Linked DNA regions of Homo sapiens: all the other regions are linked to region 2. The links are contacts of gene promoters, found by promoter capture Hi-C in human tissues and cell types (Jung and others, 2019). All regions are on one chromosome and are shown on one strand. Each heading gives the region's core, a stretch centred on a gene start or on the middle of the fragment in contact. The rest is flanking DNA. Distances are from core to core; before and after follow the strand shown. Region 1 overlaps LINC01707 (long intergenic non-protein coding RNA 1707). Region 2 holds the start of LRRC7 (leucine rich repeat containing 7). Region 3 overlaps LINC01707 (long intergenic non-protein coding RNA 1707).

Evidence for each region. Contacts are between HindIII fragments. The study calls those that stand out against the background at their distance.
Region 1: a contact is called between a fragment that was not itself captured here and the fragment with the promoter of LRRC7 in region 2, in 3 of the 25 tissues and cell types used here (dorsolateral prefrontal cortex, hippocampus and mesendoderm cells).
Region 3: a contact is called between a fragment that was not itself captured here and the fragment with the promoter of LRRC7 in region 2, in 1 of the 25 tissues and cell types used here (dorsolateral prefrontal cortex).

Annotation. Positions count from the first base shown.
Region 1 is chr1:69,104,162-69,108,478 of GRCh38, forward strand. All of the region lies in intron 3 of LINC01707 (long intergenic non-protein coding RNA 1707), which reads left to right. Among named protein-coding and RNA genes, the nearest start is that of LINC01707, 50 kb to the left of the region's middle. The HindIII fragment of the contact is 6,069 bases long and covers 4-4,317 here.
Region 2 is chr1:69,565,702-69,569,953 of GRCh38, forward strand. LRRC7 (leucine rich repeat containing 7) reads left to right here and starts at 2,221. Exons shown (of 27, transcript NM_001370785.2): 1 at 2,221-2,940. The coding sequence starts at 2,939. LOC105378789 (a long non-coding RNA gene) reads left to right here. Exons shown (of 12, transcript XR_947488.3): 12 at 1-149. RefSeq lists a silencer at 1,645-1,874. The HindIII fragment of the contact is 6,759 bases long and covers 1-4,252 here.
Region 3 is chr1:69,087,495-69,092,170 of GRCh38, forward strand. LINC01707 (long intergenic non-protein coding RNA 1707) reads left to right here. Exons shown (of 5, transcript NR_146608.1): 3 at 1,021-1,068. Among named protein-coding and RNA genes, the nearest start is that of LINC01707, 34 kb to the left of the region's middle. The HindIII fragment of the contact is 5,298 bases long and covers 1-4,676 here.

The DNA of each region.
Region 1 (4,317 bases), core at 1,788-4,287, 460 kb before region 2:
TGAAATAGAATTTCTGAATGTACCAGAATAGGCAACACAGCCCACTCCACCCCCTTCACTCTCTATACTCTACTTTCTCCTGAAGGTTTTCAGATAGCTCTTTTTCATCCACATTTTTCCTTCTGTATTCAAGTATGTGGTGAATCAGATTTCGTTCATTTAGGTGGCAGTTAGTCATATTGTGATATGGAAGCCTGCTAAGGCCCCATAGGATAGGATCTCCAGAAACAACGGGATAACAATGTGGTTTGCCCAGTATTCTCCCCATTCTTCCCCCTTTCTGCCCCTAAGTCAGAAACACTTTAATTGAGTGATTCCCACTATCTTTTCACCCCAAGGTTTAAAAGGAGAAATCCAGGCAAAAGGAAGTCTGAATTTCCAAATGCGGCTAGGTATTCCTGTTACCTTACTTGAGTCCATTGATTTATCAATGATTCCATTCATTTCTCTATTTGATTTAGTAGTAATAATAATAAACAGTTTTAGATTATAGGAATATTCAATAGGTTTATTTCCTTGTCAAATTTCAGTCAACCGGTAGTAGGTACCAGGAGGAAAATGGCTCCAGATTTGTTGATAACAAATCTGAAGCTGTGTCTTAGTTACCAGATCATTATGCTCTAATCCAGAGGTTGGCAAACTTTTTCTGTATAGGGCCAGATAGTAAATATTTTAGGCTTTGCAAGCCATATGATCTCTGTTGCAACTGCTCGATTTTGCTGTTTTTGGTCCAAAAGCAGCCAAGACAATACATAAATGAAATGGTGTGGCTGTGTCCCAAAAAACCTTCCTTTACCAAAACAGTTTGCAGGCTTTGGCCCTCTGCTGGGCCAGAGTTTGTTGACCCCTGCAATTAGCAGTGCTGTCAGTGGACAGAGAGGGATTGGTGACACAGATGCCATACATGTCTCATCCCTAATATAGACACTTACTGCATCCAAACATTTTCACTTTTACAGTCTCACTGGTTCTGCTCAACAAATGTGAGGAAGTGCAGCAGCAGGTTATTTTAGGATAGTGATGTATTCTGCTTAAGAACAGAAGCTTTGGAAAGAGACTGGAATAGGAATTTAGTTCTGTTACTTATGAGCTGTGTGTGCTTGGGCAGACAATTACCCTCTTAGTTCCTCAGCCACCTAATCTGTTAGATGAAGGTAGTAGTATCTGCCTCAAGCATAAAGAGCCCTTCAATAGATGCTTGAGATAAATGCAATTATTATTATTATCTTCTCTGTATAAACTGGGGTTAAGCTCCTATGATATTTATGAATATTAAATAAGGTAGCATATGTAAATCTCACAGCACAATAGTTAATACATAATTTTTAATGAACAATTATTATTCATATTCCCATTTTATAAATAAGGAAAGTTTTAAATGATCAATAAGTTCTGCTAAAACTTTACAGTGAATAATAGTAAAAGTGAAGTGAAACCTAGTCCTTTGGATTCCAGAAGTCATTCTGTGCCCACTAAAACTAACAAATGTGTGTTAAAACTCCCTGAACAGGTACACAGTGAAACTCAAATAGATTTTTTTTTTTTTTTGAGATAAGAGTCTCACTCTGTTGCCCCGGCTGGAGTGCAGTGGTGCAATCTGGGCTCACTGCAACCTCTGCCTCCCGGTTCAAGCAATTCTCGTGTCTCAGCCTCCCAAGTAGCTGGGATGACAGGTGCCCACCAACACACCTGACTAATTATTGTATTTTTAGCAGAGATGGGATTTTGCTATGTTGGTCAGGTTGGTCTTGAACTCCTGGCCTCAAGTGATCCACCTGCTTTGGCCTCTCAAAGTGCTGGGATTATGAGCCACCATGCCTGGCAGAAACATTTTTCATTGGAAGTGATTATACATAGACAGATTCTAACTTTTCACTCATTTCATTTGTTAATTAATTAATTAATTTTTAGTCATATGTTTCTCTGTAAAATACCTTGAATTGAAACTTTTATTTTTTTTAATGGCCTACCAAGAGACAGCTTGGCTCTGGGAATAGAGCACAGGCTTAAGAACTGTTAGAGGGAAGATATTCTGTATTGCTTTTTCTACTAGGCATGTTTCATCCTTTATAAAACATAATCAATTGCCCTAAATACCTATGTTTTATTTAACATTGATCCCATCATCTTGGCCCCAGCTGAGTTAAGAAAATGGTAGACACGTAAACCAAAGTGAAAGAGAGGCTATAGATACATGACTTGTGTGCTTGTGTGGCTCAAAACGGTGATCTGGGACAATCAGAACCATTCCTACCATTCTCTCTTTCTCTCTCAGTCTCTCTCTGTCTTGGGAGTTTTTACTTAGGGACTCAGTAAAAGTTGTCAGTTGACAATGGCACACAAAGTTTAAGTAGAGTTAGGGCACAGAAGATGGCAATATGAGCTCTATGAACTATCGGTAAATAGGAAGATAATCAGTAAAGAGAAATGGAATGATTTAGATGGGCAGAGAGGAGGAGTGCAATTCCCAGTTCAGTCCCCATTGGGTCAGCTGTACTCGATTCCTATTCCTGGATCTGTATGAGAACCTACTGAGCAGCCTTATAATACCACAGGTTCCAGGTTAATTGATCTAGCTTTGTGGGTCTTTGTTCTTTGCAAACTAAAGAACTCTGGCTGAAATAGTGATGTCACAGAGGCATTGTCAGTGGGACAGACATTTGAACTATTTCACACCCTTGCTACTTCACATGCAGGGATAGGAAGAAAAAAAAGAGAAACATTCACTTTCAAGATTTGTTCTAAATATTTGCTTCAAAGCATAAATCAAAAGCCTTAGTAAATATAACTACATACGGAGGCCTAACTGATTGCCAGCAAGAGTTCCTGAAGAAAGCCATATATGGACCCTACTATAGTTATTCTATGATTGTTGCTCATTAGGAAAAAAAAAAAAATCCTTTCTTCCCAATACAAGTTGATGCATTCTTTAGTGATATGGTGTGCATTTTATAATTTAGAAAATAAAATGGTTAGACATAATGTATTTGTTGGTGTTTTGCTCAAAGGAGTGATGGATTGGAAGGATGATCAGATAGGAAATTCCAGGAAATGTTTTAATGGTGGTGGGATGGATGGCGACAGCAGAGATTCAACTGATGGTATGAGAAGGCAGGTTGCAGAGCACTGAATTTCTTGTTGCAGGCTCTTTTATTTCAGATACAATGTGGCCACATCCTAAGTAATAAAGCAAAGCCTCCAAAGGCAGTTCAAACGTAATATGTATTTAGCACTTGTGTGCCAGAGATTATACAAGTTTTAAGTGATGTATCAAAAGAATAAGTAAATAAATACCCTTGAAAATCCCAATAATGATTACAGGGAGATTGACAGGCATATAAACCATTCATTATGGTATGGTGTGATAAGTTTTTGTGATGGACCTATGTGCACAAAACTCTGAGAATTCATAGGAAGAAGCAATTCATTCTGCCATGGAGTGTGGCAAGGTAGGGAAAGGTTTCAGAGAGGAGATGGTACTAAGAAGGGCATAAAGATCAAGACCATCCTGGCTAACACGGTGAAACCTTGTCTCTGCTAAAAAAAATACAAAATATTATCCGGGTGTGGTGGCGGGCGTCTGTAGTCCCAGGTACTTGGGAGGTTGAGGCAGGAGAATTGTGTGAACCCGGGAAGCAGGGCTTGCAGTGAGCCGAGATCGCACCACAGCACTCCAGCCTGGGTGACAGAGCGAGACTCTGTCTCAAAAAAAAAAAAAGAAGGGCATAAATAATGAATAGGAATTCAGAAAGAACAGAAAGGAAAAGTTATTGCAGGGAGGAAGCACAGACTAAGCAAAGAATTGTTGAATGGAAAGGAGAGCGAGAGCCTAAGGAGAACTCCCAGGAAGCTTTTGAGATAGTTTCTTGGTAAACACCTAGCATAGTTTGGTGGCTGTAGCAGAATCATTCAAATACTCTTGGCTGCCCAATCCCTTTCTCCACTCCCATTAGGCTGAACATTTTGAGCGAAATCTAATTTAAAATCAGCAGCTGATACAGACATTAGTGATGGGGAGTAAGTTGTCTCAAGGAAATCTCTTCGTAAGTCATTTGATATGTCCTTGTTTCCTGTCGAGAGGCACCCACAGACTCCTTGACCCATGTTCAAACTGGCCCTGGGCTAAGTGGGGTATAGTTAACTCAAATGAAATTCACCTTTGCAAATACTGTTCCATGAGTAATACCAAGCTCTAGAAGAATACATTTACTTAAAATAGAAGGGAAATGAGAAGGAAAATGCCCAGGAGAAGGTACAGATGAGCAACTTTAAATATTTAAAAATAGGAAAGGAAGGAAAGAAAAGCAAATGCAAATC
Region 2 (4,252 bases), core at 971-3,470:
GGCAACTGGACACCCTTATGAGATGAGCCTTTGTGCCCTTCCTGTAAGTGTGGATTAGATTATCCACCACCTAGATTTAAGAAAGGATTAAATGAAAGAATATATGTGAAAGTACTGTGTTGACTGTATTAAAAAGAACTGGAAACCCATAAAGGACCGCTATAATTGTGTAATTGTTGCGCCAGGTTATTTTGTCAATACATTTTTAATCAGCACCTAAAATATTTCATGTCACTTCATCCAGCAGAGACATTGAGATGTGGCAAAATGTTTAAAAGGACAACACTATAGGTGAAAAAAAAACAGAGCACAACAGTAGTCAATTCAAAAAAAATTCTTTTAACAATTTTATTCCATTTCCTTGCCATTTTCAGAGCCCTTTCTTTTGGTGTTTTGTAACAATATAAAAAACGATCTGGCTTTTCAAAATATACTCCTTTTCCTTTCTATATGCAAATGATATGAAACACTGGCAAGTTGTCCTTAAAAGTCAGCCCACCTTCATGGCCCAGATAAAGTGGGCAATAATTCCTCTCTAGGTCCTCCGCACATTAGGTGCCAGTCTCTCAAGTCTCTTCCTAGACAATTTCTAGCAGCCAGGAAACATAATTTTTGACCTTGAAGACTTTAGCATTCCAAATCTAAGAATACAATCAGGTGTGTTTTCTTTTGGCAAACTGTGAGCTTACACACACCCCCAGAGTGGCATTTGAATGCTGTGCACAGTCTTGACTGTGTTCGAGGTTAGAGAACTAAAGACAAGATTCTTTCTCTCTTGTAATGAAGAAACAAAAACCACATAGCCTATATTCCACAAAAGAATACCAGCATAATATATCCTTTTTTAAAGATGTAATTCATTAGATGTGTGTAGAGAATAAAAGTGTAAATATAGGCTGGGAACGGTGGCTCACGTCTATAATCCCAGCATTTTGGGAGGCCGAGACAGGTGGATCACCTGAGGTCAGGAATTCGAGACCAGCCTGGGCAACATGGTGAAACCCCCGTCTCTACTAAAAATACAAAAAAAATCATCCGGGCGTGGTGGCACGCGCCTGTAATCCCAGCTACTCGGGAGGCTGAGGCAGGAAGATCGCTTGAACCGGGGAGGAAGAGGTTGCAGTGAGCCGAGATCGCGCCATTGTACTCCAGCCTGGTCAACAAGAGCGAAACTCCGTTTCAAAAAAAAAAAAAAAAAGTGTAAATATAGTACTAGCTTCATTGATATGTCTTGCTGCTTCTGGGACTTTAGAGAAGCGTATAAGAAGAAAGTGTGTGTGCCTTTACGTAAGGGAGCATATGAGAGAGAGAGAGAGAGTGTGTGTGTGTGTGTGTGTGTGTGTGTGTGTGTGTGTGTGTGTCAGAGAGAATGTTCATGGCAGGAGGAGGGGCGGTGAATATATGAAGGGAAGTTGGGAAAACCCTTCCCTTTTTGTGCACTCCCAGGGCAGCAGCCGCAACCCCAGAATGAGGAGAGGACTTAAGAGCAGGCACAAGGTTCGCTGCCATGACTGATGTGAAGCGACCTGACGCACAAGCGGAGACTTTTCTCCTTGGCAGCCAACAACCTGCAGCAGGCAAGGCGGGCGGGGGAGGAAACCCCGAGGAGGCGCTCCCGGCCGCCTCTTTGCTGAGATAGCAGGAGCAGCAGCCTGAGGAGCCACGAGCTCAGCGTCACTGAGCTAGTGCGGGTGCAGGGGCGCTCAGGCAGGCGCACAGGCCGGGAGCCGCTTCTGCCGCTCAGGCGGCCGCGCTGCAGAAAGCCGCGCCGCGCTGCCCGAGCGCCCGGGGCTGGCCCGCGAGCGGGAGGAGCCGGCAGCCGCGCTCCGCCCCGCGCTGAGATTCGTGCCACCTGCCTCGAACACCACGGAGGCGAGAGGAACCCAGAGAGCTCGGCCTCTCGTCCCGTTCTCGAAAAGCAGCCTATCGTGACGGAGCCGGGAGAAGGCTAGCGTTTCAATCCTGTGCAGGACTGGGATTTTTCTTCTCATAATTTGGGGGAGCCGGAGTAGAGGTCAGAGGGACAGGCGAGGATCTCAAAAAGAGACCGAGGGTTGTGAACATGGTTACCCCCTCCTATCATTGGAAAATCTCCTTGACATTTTTCACACTTTGAAGCAGCTGCAGCTGGTGTCGTCGGAAAAGGGGGTGGGAAAAAAGAGAGGGGGCGGGGAGAGCGGTGAGACACAGCCAAGAGCCATGAGCGGCGCCTCCTCGCCTGCCAATCCTGGCACCTGTGCGCCGAGCCACTGCACCGAGGAGGACCCTACTCCGGGTGAACACCGGGCTTGAAGCCACGGACACCCAGCCCCAGTGCAGCGGGTTCTCGCCGGCGGGACCTGCAGCCGCCCACTCGGGCCACCGCCACCGCCTCCTGCAGTTGCGGAGCGCTCAGCCCCTCCGAGACGCCCGCTGCGCCCTGGCCCCTGGGGATCCTCGCCCTGCACAGGCGCGGCAACGGGCAGGGGTTGTTACGGAGTTGGGTGCAGGATTCGCCTTTCCTGCTTGTCTCTTCTCCGCCCAGGATTTATTGTCTGTGGAGCCTTCTGGGGGCGGGGAGGGAGCTGCGCCTCCGCCACCGCCGCCGCCGCCGCCGCTGCTGCTGCGGTCGCTAGCGCGGCGCGCTGGGCAGGCTGAGGCTGGGGAGTGGACGCGCTCCTGCCTCCCCCGCCGGCGCTTCGGGCTTCCCCTCAGCCGCTTCCCGCGGGAACCTCTCCAGCCGTCCACCTGAAGGGCACTGGCATCATGGTCTAACGTGGCACCTTCCTGGATTCCCCTCTATCTCCTGTTCTTCCTACCTTCTACTCCTTCCCTCCTCTTCTCCTCCGAAGACCCTGGCGCCCACTCCACTGCGGACCCCTGAACACTTAAGGAATAACCCTTGGCAGCTGCACGACTACGCTCTCCGAAACCTCATGGGCAGTTTCTCCCGCCGGCGATGTGAGTAAGGCACGCTCGCTCCGTGGCGGAGGGTGCTGCGGGGGCCCGGCCGCGGCGACCGTAGGCGCGCGAGGTGTGGGACCCCAGAGGCCGGCCGGGGGCGGGGGTGGCAGGGCGGGAGGCTTCGGCGCTCGCGGGGAGCTGCTTGTGCGGTGGCCGAGGGAGGCGGCGAAGATGTGGTAGGTTGCAGAGCATTTGGAAATGGGGTGCTAACTGGGCGGGTGCATGGGAGCACCGAGTAGCTTGAGCTGGCAAGAGACCTTAAAGGGTTACATACTGCGAAAAGGAAAGGTAAATGTTGGGCGCTGGTGCTGGGACCATTGGTTCCGCTGAAATTAGGTTTAGCTCCTCGTTATTATCTTGGGTATCTCCAGTCAGCTTTTTTCCCAGAGGTGTCTGAGGGATGAAGCGCGTGTTTGATCGTGACACACACACACACACACTCACACACACTTGTGGCAGGACGCACTTGTCTCTTTATCTTGGAAGGTGTTGTATCAATGTCTCGATGTCTGTTTGAAAAAATACAATTAGAAGATTTTTATGTGATTGGGATTGAAGGGAAAGGGTGGGGTTTGGGGGGATGGAGGGGACGAAGGAACATGAAAGACTGGAGGACGGAAAGAAGTGGGGGAGCGTGTTCCCTGGGAGTCAGGGAGAACCTTGCCTCCCTCCCTGTCAGCTAGACAACTCCTGCCCACACATCTCCTTTGTGTGGCACGAGAAGCTGGTGAACCTGCCTATTCCCAATCCAGCGCTGGGTCCCCTTGAGGATCTTGCGTCCTCCTCTCCGAGTTATTAAGGATGCAGGACGTGTTTCGGATTCGACGTGGAAAGAGGGAGGGAAGCACATTAGCATTAAGGTAATCATGGCACCCTGGCTCGTGGACTATTAGATTGGCTACCAGTGGTCTCTAATCTTACTGTTTGCAGAGTCAAGAATGGGGGCGGGGGTTGGGGGACTGTATAGATTGCCTTTTAAAATAGTGTGACTTCATAATAACGGAGATGGCTGAAAGATTGCTTCCTTACACTACTTCTCGGCCATCAGGGCTGAATAAAGGACCCGCCTCCGCCCTCTACTCCGGCTCTTCTCTGGCTGTCTCTTCCCCATCAAGTCATAAAGCGAGCGGGTTGGGCGAGAGGGCACAGCTCGAGGCAGAGAAGAGACGGGGTCACTTTCACAACTCCCAGGAATCGGCTTCAGAAAGGAACCATCTGCGACTCCCACGTTCCTTTCGAAGTTCTCCTTCAAAAGGAATTACAAAAAAAAAAAAAAAAAAAAAAGCGATGGGGGTGGGGATCGGTAAGA
Region 3 (4,676 bases), core at 1,318-3,817, 480 kb before region 2:
TGGGGAGCAATGTGCCCAGATAGACGCTCATATTTCAGTTTCCCTTGAGCCAACAGTAGCCACACAACTTCATGGCTTGGTTCTGTGTCCTTCATTGCTTGGTTCTGTGTGCAGCTGTGCTTAACACATGGTAGATGGAAGTCTCCTGAATGTTTTGGGGGAGGGTTTGCTTTCCTATTAAAAGGGGATATATCTGCCTGGCATCATCCCTTTCTCATTTTTCTTTCCTTGAATGTGGATCTAATGTCAGGAGCTGAAGCTACCATATGTGACCCAAGCATTGGGGCTCAGAAAATGATAACACAAAGTATGGCACTTTGGCATGCTGAGTACTTTGAACTAAAGGAGATGGGAAAGCCTCAAAAGCAAAATCTCTCTCTGACCTTCTCCTGCTCTCTTTCTCTCCTGAAGTGAGTCGTAGAATTCCTCTTGCCTAGAGTGGGTCATAGAAACTAGAACCCTTTCCCCAAAGCAAGCCATTAAACTTAGAAAGGTCACTCTTTTCTCTTCTCCCTTAAAGAACCTCATATCAGAGGGGTCCTGGCCCATATCTAGGAGGAAGGAATTCTACAGAAACCCAGAAGAATCTGAACAGACAGGACTTACTGGGTTTTCCTCTGTCTTTTACCACTCAATCACCCTTTTTGTCTAATCACATTTCAACATGGATGTCCACTCTTCATCAAACCTAAGCATAAAAGTAGTTTTCCCTGGGTCTTTTGGTCTTCATTTCTGAAGGCTCCTGTGTCACATAAAACTTTGATTAAACAAATTTGTCATGCTTTTCTCTTGTTAACCTATCTTTTATTATAGGAGGATCAAACGTAACACTTACAATGGGTGAGTAAGTGCTACGTTTGCTCCTCCTATAATATCAAGTTATCACACCCCTTTCCTGCCCCTACAGTTTCTGGTGCCCAATGTGGGGTCATTGAAACACCTCACACCAGATCTTGGGACAACTAACAAAAAATCAACAACAACAACAACAACAACACACATTTTTTTTTTTAAACCAAGGTCACCTCTCCTGGATCTCTGCCTGTAGTGCCCAATTAAGAATGGAAGGTAAGCATTTGTTTTTATCCCTTCCTTCCCAAATTCAGATTAGCAGGAAGAAATCATTTGTTTGGATTGTGTCTTTTGTGTAAATTTGGTTTGGAAGTACATATTTGTTATTGATCTTTTCCTTTCCGGGGACATCCATTTCTTTCCTATTTGTCTTGTTCTGTGTCCTGAAGGTTTGGTTTTATGATCAGTGAGAATATTCTCTCTGGTCTCTACCAGCTGGGGGATGCAAGTGTCAGCTTACATCAGGCAGCCAGTCCAAATGTTTTTTTTTTTTTGTCATGTAGTGTCAGCTCTCAGGGGAATTTGTCTTATTAGAGGTTCCAATTCATGAGAGGCCTGTTTTTTTTTTGTTTTTCTTTTTTTTTTTTTGTTTTTTTTTTTTTGGTCTCAGCCTTCATTGCTTAGTTCTGTGGCAACAAAGGTCTTTTTTTCTTTTGACTGTCTTTTGCGGATGATTCTGGATCTTGGGAGGACTACATCTTTTTGCACCCTCTTTTCAGGACATCTCTTTCATCCTTGGTTAAGTCATAAAAGACTGACTGATTTTGGTTCTGAGTCACTTGGTTGGGGCCTCAGTTTAAAAGCAGAAAAAAAAAAGCCACAAGTAGTTCAAGCAGTTGCTGTTTGTTCTGGCTGAAATCTGAAAATAAAATATTTGAAAAGTTTTTTTGTTTTGTTTTTTTCTTCAATGAATTCTGTGGTCAGAAGTCTGATTAATTGAAAGCTGATATTCAGGCTTTACTTTTTTTAAGGCCTCTGTGTTCTCACTATTGGATATTGCTTCTTCCATGGGAACTTAGTTGACTGAAACTCCTCTTGTTGAATCCCTGCTAACTATATGCTCAGCCCTTCTGTTTTCTTTCTTGCTGGCAAGATTTTTTTGCTGAGGAGAATGTAGAATATCATTGGTTTTTTAGGGGGATGGGGAAGGGGACTCAAAATCTTCTTAAACTGGCTTCTCTAAGACCCCTTCTTAGAAGGACTCTGGTTTCTGTGGCCAGACTTTAGTTAGGCTTCTAAACCTTCTCCTAGGTCCATCTGTATATGTCCTTGTAAAATCCTGTAGTAAATTCCCATAATTTTATGTTACCTCAGCATTCATTTTGAATCTTCCTCTGTGTCTCACTTAATTGACATACCTGAGCCTAATGAGCCTCCCAGTTGGGGCTCTACCATAGAGTGGCTATCTTGATAAGCCCATCTCTCTCACTAGAGAGTGTCTATAAACACTCTCTAGTGAGAACTTCAGACAAAAATCGAGAAAAATGCAACAAATTCAGTTGTAACAGAAATGGATAACTCGTCCACTCAGGTGGGTCTTTGAAGACATTTAAACAGCTGTAAGATGTCTCCTCAGGCACTAGCTTACAATCTAGTTCATAGTCTCCATAAGATCGGTCTCTGATAGTAGGCTTTCTCTGTGCCTTTGATTCGTAAATTTTCTACACTCTTCTCTAGAACTTGATAGTTACCCTTTGCAATAAAAACTTCAGGGAGATGACTTTCATAGAAAAGAGAAAAAAATAAACTATTTGGAAACTGGTCAAATGAAAACTCTTAAAAGCCTTCTCCAGAAAAATTGGTAAAAAGCTGTAGTCATTTGAGAAGATAGCCTTACCTTACCCATTTGACAGATCCAGCTAGTGAGCTTTAAATTATTGAACCTGGCATGTGGCTAAAAGTTATAGAATAGAAACTGTAAAATCTGCTCTGTCTGTATGTTTATATCATTAAATCTAATACAGACATACATTTTTGCCTGGGTTTTTGGTACAGACAGGTTTGTATTGTCTCTGTTAGATGTTTAAGATTATAAAACTAGAAATCTAGCCTAAAAGCAGAATGCACAGTAAAACATGAATTAATTGCTTGATGCATGTCAGTTTCTAAAAAAAAAAAAAAAATAGAGGAGATAACATGTTTAGCTTTTTAGTTTGTGTCTGTGATTTTTTGATACTTCTCTGATTTGTCAACAAAAAAGATAAGATAGTGGTTAGCTTTATTTACTGTGTTATAAAATTTTCATACACAGTTCAAGCATAATTCTTAAAGATGAATGAATTAGATGAATGTGAGATAAAAGTCTATGAGTAAAATTTTCAATATAATTATGCTTTATAACATATGTCTACTTAAGAATATCTTCAAAAATCTTTTTTGGTAACTTAAAACCTTAATGTGAGATTAAGTAATATGTACTTGCTATATGCCTCAGTAAGGTAAAATACTAAAACATTAAGTACTAAGCATAAGTTTAAGTTTAAATATTTTAGCATCCTGTTTTTATATGTCATAGAGAGCTACATATATCTGAGTCTGGTAATAAGCATGAAAAACTGAGGAAACATCTTTCTGGAAATTATAAAATGGTAAATGCTGATGTAAGCCAATTTACAATGCTTGCTAGTTTTCATTAGAAATTAAGGTTACTAGAGTTAAAGATTATAATTAGCATATGTTATTAAGCTACTAGAAATTACAAGCATACCTTGGAGACGTTGCAGGTTTGGTTCCAGATCATTGCAATAAAGTGAATACTGCAATAAAGTGAGTCATACATACTTTTGATTTCCCAGTGTAATAGGAGTTATTAAGAAATTATTTTAGGCAAATAAAGAGGAAAAGGGGTCCTTGGGAAGTTTTTGTTTCTTTTAAGCAGCTCCAGAAACATTTTTTGCCTAGCAGGAAAGCCCTGGTTCTTAAAGCTCGGTCAGCAAACTTTGATATGCAAATGGGCCCCTTAGAAACTGGGTCCACCAAAACATGTCAATTCCTGGCAACTTCTTCCTTGCCCCCACATGTGCCTGGCAACATGGTTGCCCCCACATATCCCCACGTGTGTAGAACATCATGGTGCTGTGCATTTGCATATTGAAAGGCTAGGGTGGAAGGGCTAGGTTTTTCACAGCTCCATAAATGACCTGCCTGGTCAAAGCAGCCCCTGAGCCCTATGCAAATCAGACACCACCTCCTCCAGCCTTCTCATATAAGCAGCCACTTTTCCGCTGCACAGGGGAGTTTCCTCTCTTGGCTTTGGAGCCCTCCCTCCCTCTGTCTCTGTGTCGGGGAGTTTCTTCCTTCTTTCTCGTCTATTAAACTTCCCGCTCCTTAAAACCACTCCATGTGTCTCCGTGTCATTTTATCAAAATTGGGATGAGACTAAGGACCCTGATATTCCTCCAGTCATCGGAGTCATATCACTAGTGCATATAAAAGTCATGTTTATACGATATTGTAGTCCATTAAGTGTTCAATGCATTATGTTGAAAAAAAAATTGTACTTGCCTTAATTTAAAAATACTTCCTTTGCTAAAAAAATGCTGACAAAAACAAAGTGAGCACATGCTATTGAAAAAATGATGCAAATAGACTCACTCAACTTAGAGTTGCCACAAATTGTCAATTTATTTAAAAATGCAATATCTGCAAAGCACAATAAAATGAAGAGCAACAAAATGAGATATGGCTGTATAGAGAAACAACTCTGTATGTGAAGAAAATAGATGTTTTGATAAAGAAAGGTACAAAAGTATTTTTTTTTAAAAAAAAAAGCTTATGGATATAACAAAAAGTTATAAAAGGTTTGTAAAAATTTTACCTTGTGT